Regions from separate parts of the Homo sapiens genome. Here regions 1 and 2 are each linked to region 3. Evidence: promoter capture Hi-C in 16 types of primary human blood cells and fetal thymus (Javierre and others, 2016). All regions are on one chromosome and are shown on one strand. Each heading gives the region's core, a stretch centred on a gene start or on the middle of the fragment in contact. The rest is flanking DNA. Distances are from core to core; before and after follow the strand shown. Region 1 overlaps SNRPF-DT (SNRPF divergent transcript). Region 2 overlaps CCDC38 (coiled-coil domain containing 38). Region 3 holds the start of CFAP54 (cilia and flagella associated protein 54).

The links. Contacts are between HindIII fragments. The CHiCAGO score rates a contact against its expected background, and 5 or more counts as called.
Region 1: a fragment that was not itself captured here is called in contact with the fragment with the promoter of CFAP54 in region 3 in 4 of 17 cell types (monocytes, fetal thymus, neutrophils and 1 more); the score reaches 8.1 in monocytes.
Region 2: a contact is called between a fragment that was not itself captured here and the fragment with the promoter of CFAP54 in region 3, in 1 of 17 cell types (neutrophils). The highest score is 6.0, in neutrophils.

The regions. Positions count from the first base shown.
Region 1 is chr12:95,851,818-95,854,517 of GRCh38, forward strand. All of the region lies in intron 1 of SNRPF-DT (SNRPF divergent transcript), which reads right to left. Among named protein-coding and RNA genes, the nearest start is that of SNRPF-DT, 5.7 kb to the right of the region's middle. The HindIII fragment of the contact is 767 bases long and covers 872-1,638 here.
Region 2 is chr12:95,909,851-95,912,550 of GRCh38, forward strand. The region is part of intron 4 of CCDC38 (coiled-coil domain containing 38); the gene reads right to left. Among named protein-coding and RNA genes, the nearest start is that of CCDC38, 31 kb to the right of the region's middle. The HindIII fragment of the contact is 4,522 bases long and covers 1-2,700 here.
Region 3 is chr12:96,488,272-96,490,971 of GRCh38, forward strand. It overlaps CFAP54 (cilia and flagella associated protein 54), which reads left to right and starts at 1,306. Exons shown (of 68, transcript NM_001306084.2): 1 at 1,306-1,655. The coding sequence starts at 1,339. RefSeq lists a silencer at 1,160-1,454 and an enhancer at 1,345-1,554. The HindIII fragment of the contact is 3,410 bases long and covers 751-2,700 here.

The DNA of each region.
Region 1 (2,700 bases), core at 5-2,504, 640 kb before region 3:
ACTAGATTCAGGTTATGTGGCTTTGGTAAGAATATCACAGAATGCATCTTTTCTTTGCATCTTATCATGTGGCACCTGATTTTGATTTTCCAGTTGCTAACGATAGTTGTTTGATCACTGGATTGTAATAAGATGGTGTCTACCAGTTACTATAGTGAAGAAGACTGAAAATAGCCAATGTTCGAAGGGATCCTGATTCCTTTAGTGGGAAGCAGTTTCTAGAAACTAAAACCTGAGCATTAAGTATGCTCATTATTATAGGTTGATTCCTTTGATTAGTGCCCTTGTAACAAATTTCCCTTCCTGCCATTGTCCCCTCCCCTGCATTTCTTCTTCATTCCATTCAGGTTCTGACACCGTGTGCCAGGTCATTCTGCATGGACATCCTCCTTGCTTCCTTTAGGCTCTGACACTCCACAGCAGGCCACCCTCTTCCCCGCAGTGTGGACACCCTCTTAACCCCACTCAGGCTCCAACACTCCCTGTCAGGCCACCCTCTGGGGATGCTTCATCCTACTTGGGCTCCAATGGCTGGTGCTGGGCTGCCCCTCGCCATGCGTGATCACCATCCTCACCTCCTCAGGCACCAACTTCCCATGTTTGCCTGCCCTCCTATGTAGATACCTTCCTCCTCCTGCTCAGGCTCTGACACCCCACACTGGCTGCTCTCTTATGTGGATGTTCTCCTCACTCCATTCAGACCACTGTGACTACCCCCATACCCCAGCACAGGTGCATACTTTGCTTACTCCATCTAATGGTTTTAAAACCACATCTTCAGGAAGGATAGAGGAACAACCTTGTACTAACTCCTAACATCCACTACCACACTGGGAGAAAGAAACAATTATCCCTATGTCATGGGAAAATAAGCTTAGTGAGGGCGGGTAACTTACACAAGTTCCCACTAGTAAGTGTTGGGGGCAGGATTCAAACTCAGATTCGAACCTGGCCTCTAGAACCAGCATTATCAACCATTATGTTGTCAATCATATAAAACAATCATATAATGTGCTATTAAATATACTGTTTTTATTATCTTCTGCTGCCGTATATACTGCCTTCTTTTTTTGAGACAGAGTCCCATTCTGTCGCCCAGGCTGGAGTGCAGTGGTGCCATCTCGGCTGACTGCAGCCTCTGCCTCCTGCGTTCAAGTGATCCTTGTGTCTCAGCCTCCTGAGTAGCTGGGCTTACAGGCATGCACTACCATGCTTGGTTAATTTTTGTACTTTTAGTAGAGACGAGGTTTAGTAGAGATGGGGTTTCACCATGTTGGCCAGGCTGGTCTTGAAATCCTGGCCTCAAGTGATCCACCCACCTCGGCCTCCCAAAGTGCTGGGATTACAGGCATGCACCACACTGCCTGGCCTATACTGCTTTTTTAATATAACTCAATATATATGAACAAATTGTATGCATCCACTCATTTTCTGTCTCATCTGTTTCCCAGGTCCTTGATTGCTAGCTCCCTCCAGCTCCCTCTGCACTTAATGGCTAATAAATGTGGTTTTGGGTCTAGACTAATCTCTTATATCTTGAGTTATTAGGCAAACTAATTTTCTGGTCCATAAAGGGATTGGTCTCCCCATAAATATATAAGGTGCTACTTTTACATTGGTTTTACATTACTTAAACCAAGCTTTTGGGGATAATTAGATTTTGATTGAATATAAATGTAGGAGAACAAATATTTATCGAACTGACCAGATATTGTACTGCGTTGCATATATTATCTCATTTAATGTTCTTCATTTAATGTTAACCCTGTGAGAGTCAGGAGAGAACCCCAACTTCAGGTAGCAAGGAGTAAACCTGCTGTCTCTCCACAGGTGCTGAAAGGAGACAATGAGACTATGTGGATCAGAACAAGACAGTTTACTACACACAGCAAACAGAAGCATTGTCTTAGCCATGTCAGCCTCCCTTGCCCCCCAGGTCCCAAGAGGTGAAGTGATAGACCCAGACAGATAGATGTGCACAGTGGATTCCAGCACAGCTGAAGAATCAAAGCCAACAGCCCAGAACTTTTTGAGCAAGCAGCAGTTTAGCAAACAGCAAACAAGTAGTCCAATATTAGTTATTAGCATTAGTTATTGTAGGTCACATTGACCTACTCACGTGCCTACGTACCTCGCTACAGAAACTATTCAGTATCAGGAGGTGGATAAACACCACAAATATTGTATCCTAATAGCAGCCTTATAAGATGGGTATTGAACTGGGCATGGTGGTATACACCCATAATCCCAGCCACTTGGGAGACTGAGACAGGAGGATTGCTTGAGCCCAGGAGTTTGAGACCAGCCTGGGCAACATAGTTACAGCCCACCTCACTAAAAAAAAATTTTTTTAAGATAGGTACTATCATGATCATCCTCTTTATTGATGAGGAGATTGAAGCAGAGATAAGCTGCACATGGCAGAGTCAGGATTTGAACTCAGACAGTATTGGCTCCTACCCACAATACCAGGTTTCCTTTGTTGGGGCTCAGAAAATGATACCCCGAAGCATACTGCTACTTTGCACTAAAGCAGCAGCCTCAGAACCAAGGTCTGACCTTCTCTCTGACCTTCTCCCACCCCCCATCTCTTGCCCCTCCTCCTCTCCTGAAGCACAGGAAGAGACTTTTCTCTGAAGTTTCCTTATCTACCTAAAGATCCAATCCACTGAAGAGGAAAACAATTGTCTTCAATCTTCT
Region 2 (2,700 bases), core at 66-2,565, 580 kb before region 3:
TCCCCTTATGATAAATACACTCAACAAACTAGGCATCGAAGGAACATACCTCAAAATACTAACAGCCATCTATGACAAACTCACAGCCAACATCATACGGAACAGGTAAAAGTTAGAAGCATTTCCCCTAAGAACTGGAACAAGACAAGGATTTGCACTCTCAGCATTCCTAGTCAACATAATACTGGAAGTCTTAACCAGGGCAATCCAGCAAGAGAAAGAAACAAAAGCATCCAAATAGGAAAAGAGGAAGTCAAATTATCTGTCTTCACTGATGATATGGTTCGATACCTAAAAAACCCCAAAGACTCCACCAAAAGAGGCTTAGATCTGACAAACAACTTCAGCAAAGTTTCAGGATACAAAATCAATGTACAAAAATCAACAGCATTTGTATACATCAATAACATTTGAGCTGAGAGCCAAATCAAGAATGCAATCCCATTTACATTACACACACACACACACACACACACACACACAAAATACCTATGGATATTTGTAAACAAAGAGGTGTAAGAACTCTACAATGAGAATTACAAAACACTGCTGAAAGAATTCATAGATGACACAAACAAATTGAAAAACATTCCAGGCTCATGGATTGGAACAATCAATGTCATTAAAAATGTCCACACTTATGAAAGCAATTTACAGATTCAATGCTATTCCTATCAAACTACCAATGTCACTTTTCACAGAATTAGAAAAAAACTATTCTAGAATTCAGGCTGGGCATGGTGGCTCATGCCTGTAATCCCAAAACTTGGAAAGGCCAAGGTGGGAGGATTGCTTGAGGCCAGGAGTTCAAGACCAGACTGAGCAACACAGCAAGAAACCCATCTTTACAAAAAAATTAAAAAATTAGTTGAGCATGGTTGTGCGTGCCTATAGTCCTAGCCTCTCACAGGACTAAGCCAGGAGGATTGCTTGAGTTTAGAAGTTCAAGGTTACAGTGAGCTATGATCATGCTACTGCACTTCAGCCTGGGGGACAGAGTAAGACACTGTCTCTAAATGAATAAATAATTCATAAAAATAAAATAAAAATTACATGAAGCCAAAATAGAGCCCAAATAGCCAAAGCAATCCTACGCAAAAAGAACGAAGTTGGACTCATCATATTACCTGATTTCAAACTATACTACAAGGCTACCGTAACAAAAACAGCATGGTACTGGTACAAAAATAGACAGACCAATGGAACAAAATAGAAAACAGAGAAATAAAGCTGCACACATACAACCAACTGATTGTCAACAAAGATGACAAAAATAAAAAATGGGGAGAGGATCCCCTTTTCAATAAATGGTGCAGGGAAAACTGGCTAGCCATATGCAGAAGAATGAAACTAGATCCCTTCATCTTACCATATACAAAAATTAACTCAAGAGGGATTCAAGATTTAAATGTAAGACCTCCATCTATAAAAAGAAATCCCAAAAGAAAATCTGGGACATACTCTTCCAGACATTGGCCTAGGAAAAGTTCTCAAAACCAAATGCAACAAAAATAAAAATTGGCAATTCACACCTAATTTAACTAAAGAGCTTCTGCGCAGCAAAAAACACTATCAACAGACTAAACAGACAACCTATAGCATAGGAGAAAATATTTGCAAGCTATGTATATTCGCAACCTTTGTCAAAGACAAAGGCCTAATATCCAGAATCTACAAGAAACTTAAACAAATTAACAAGAAAAAAACACATTGAAAAGTAGGCAAAAGAAGGCATACAAGTGACATCCGATAAACTGGAAAGAATGCCCGACATTGCCAATCATCAGAGAAATGCAAATCAAAATCACAATGAGATGCCGTCTCACACCAGTCAGAATGGCTATTATTAAAAAGTCAAAAAATAACAGATGACTAGGTTGCAGAGAAAAATGGAATGCTTATACATTGTTGATGGGAATACACTGTTAATTCAGCCCCATGTGGAAAGCAGTTTGGAGGTTTTTCAAAGAACTAAAAATAGAACTATCATCCAACCCAGCAATCCCATTACTGGGTACCTACCTCCCCAAAAATAAATTGTTCTGTCAAAAAGACACATGCACTTGTATGTTCATCACAGCAATGTTAACCACAGCAAATACAGAGACTCAACCTAGATGCCCATCAACAGTGGACTGGCTAAAGAAAATGTGGTGCATGTATACCATGGAATACTATGCAGCCATAAAAAGAATAAAATAATGTCCTTTGCAGCAACATGGATAGAGCTGGAAGTCATTCTCCTAAGTGAATTAACACAGAAACAGAAAAGCAAATACTGCATGTTCTCACTTATAAGTGGGAGCTAAACATTGAGTACACATGGACAGAAAGATGGGAATAATAGACACTGAGGCCTCCTAAAGCAGGGAGGGAGGGAGAGGAGCAAGGGTTGAAAAACTTCCTATTGGGTACCATGTTCACTATTTTGGTGATGCAATCAATAGAAGCCCAAAGCTCAGCATCATTCAACATACCCTCATAACAAACCTGCACATGTATCCCCTGAATCTAAAATTTAAGAATTTAAATACTCATCCCTACGTGGAAGCTAAAAAAGTTGACCTCATAGAAGTAGAGAGTAGAATAGTGGTCACTAGAAGCAGGGAAGGATGGGGGTGGGGGGATAGGAAGAGGTTGGTTAACAGACACACAAGTACAGCTAGACAGCAGGAAAAAGTTTGAGTGTGCTGTAGCGCT
Region 3 (2,700 bases), core at 56-2,555:
TAGAAAAGAAGGTTCTCCATTTTCTCAATACTCATACTTTAATAAATTTAACTCTGACTTTTGCCTATAATACACAGGCTAAGAATAAACTCCCCAAGTATTTCCCTGGAGGTCTGTAGTTTCCCCATCAGAAGTAAAGTCTCCTAAAAGCCCTGTTTAAAATGCAAAGTATTTTGAGAGTTAACACTTCAGGCCACTAGTATGTATTAATGTCCTATGGTTAAGGTTGAGCAAAATGCACATTAATTTAGAATACAGAGATAATTAAAGTAAGGCTGGAATGTGCATAAATAGATGTAATCATAATTATTAGAGGCATAGACATCATGTCCACAGTTACAGACCTCAAGGTACAAATAGAGGAAAGAGAATGGATCAGCTGCATATTCAGTACTCCCTGGCTATCTGTGGGGGACTAGTTCCATGACACCCGCAGATACCAAAATCTGTGGATGCTCAAGCCTCTGATATGAAATGCTGTAGTATTTGCATATAATTTGTGCACATCCTTCAGGATGTTTTAAATCATCTCTAGATAACTAGTAATACCTAATACAGTATAAATGCCATGTAAATAGTTGTATTTTGTGTTATTTTTATTGTTGTATTGTTATTTCTAATTTTGTTCTGAATATTTACAATCTGGAGTTGCTTGAATCCACAGATGAAGAACCCGAGATTTGGAGGGCCAACTGTATTTGATTCTTAAACTGCTTGTCAGATATTTCTCTAATTTCAATTTGATTAATAAGCTTTGTTTTGGGGAGTGATCAATACAGCCTATTCATTTTGAGCACAGGCTTTGGAGTCACAAGTTCCCTTTGGAGGACCTGGTCGCTGACACTACGGTTGTACGCTGACTTTTGTCAAATGACTTAACCTCCTTGAGCTTTGGTTTCCTAAACTGTGAGATGGATATACTAATAGTATCCTAAGTTGTAAAGTAGTTATGATGATTAAATGAGATAAATGAAAGTACATGTTTCAAATGCTTAATGCCTGACACACGTTAATGGTCATGGTCGTCATCATTATCGTTATTAAGTGGCCAACATGGATAAAGAGTATAGTCTGGATTTGTGACCTTAAATTTTTGGCTCTAATATTCGCCAGCGCTCTGCTCAGAACATTCTCTGTTCGCATTTCATACAGCGGTGCCAGCGCACAACCAGGCAACGCCCTCAGGAGCATCATTGTTTTCTGGACCTGGTTCTTTCTCGCTCTGCCCTCCAGGGGCCGCTGTGTTTCTCGGAATGCGCGCGGGATGCCCGGTTGCCACGAGACCGTCGCCAGGCAACCGCGTGTACACATACTCCAGGCGGGCCGGGGCGCGTCAATATGGCGGCGCAGGGCTCCCCCTCGAGCTCTCCGTCAGACGACTCTACCACCTCGGGGTCTCTGCCAGAACTGCCGCCGACCTCCACCGCGACTTCGAGGTCGCCCCCAGAGTCGAAGGGGAGCTCCCGGAGCTCGCTGCTTCAGTGGACCTGCCCCGAGGACTCATTGCCCCTAGCCGTGTTTTATGGGCCGCTGGACGCGAAAAACCCGCTCCTGGCCTCTTGTGAGAAGGAGATCCAGGAGTTGTTAGGCTTTATGAGGAAAAAGAAGGCTTTAGCCACCACGGAGGAAGAGAAGCACGAATTCCGCCGGCGTTGGTAAGCGCTGGCGGGGCACTGGGGAGGGCGCCGGCCAGAGGAGGGACCCCTGGAAAGGGCTGGAGGATGCAGGTGGTGGCCCCAGAGATGGTTCAGCGTTGCGGACGCAGGGGCTGGCTGAAGGGCCCAGGAGAGACAAAGTTTAAGAAGTGGAGACTCGTCGCTCTTAACAATCCTTAATTCCTGGGAGCTGTTATATCTTGGCTTCCTGCTCAGGTCAAAATAAAAATCTACACAGAAATGTTTCATAACTCACCATTTGTTATTTGACCAGAAAAGAAAGATGGTAACATAAGCAGGAAAGAACCTTAAAAAGAGTTCGCAGTTTGCAGTAATAACATGGTGATAGAACTCCCAAAAAGGCAAACAGTTGCGCAGAATGAATAGCAAAATTAAGAAAAAGTCACTGTAATCCTAATAGCAATATAAGAAGGAATTAAAGTGCACATGTTCACAGGATGACATACTTCATTGTATCAAGAGCTAGCTTCATGAACCTGAGCTACCTCGAAGTTATTCCTTTTTCTCCATATACAAATTTATATACTCATAACATGGAAAGTTGTGAAACCCTTGAGCGAGCCAAAAATTTATACATGAATACAAAATACGAAAATTAGCTGGGCATGGTGGCACATGCCTGTACTCCCAGCTACTCAGGAGGCTGAGGCAGGAGAATTGCTTGAACCCGGGAGGCAGAGGTTGCAGTGAGCTGGGATCGCGCCACTACACTCCAGCCTGGGCGACAGAGCAAGACTCCTTCTCAAAAAATAATAATAATAAATAAATAAAATAAAATATTTTTTATTTATGCATATAACAACTATTTATTGAGCACATACTGTATATCAAGTGCTGTTCAAGGAACTAGGAAAACATCAAGTTAACAAAACATATAAGAATCCATGTCCTTATAGAGCATATGTTTTTGTGGGTATAAACAACCACTAAACAAATATGTAAGTAAATAATCTTACAAGGAGATGACTGCTAGGGAGAAAAATAGAACAGGGAATGGTGTTGGAGGATATGAGATGAATGTTGC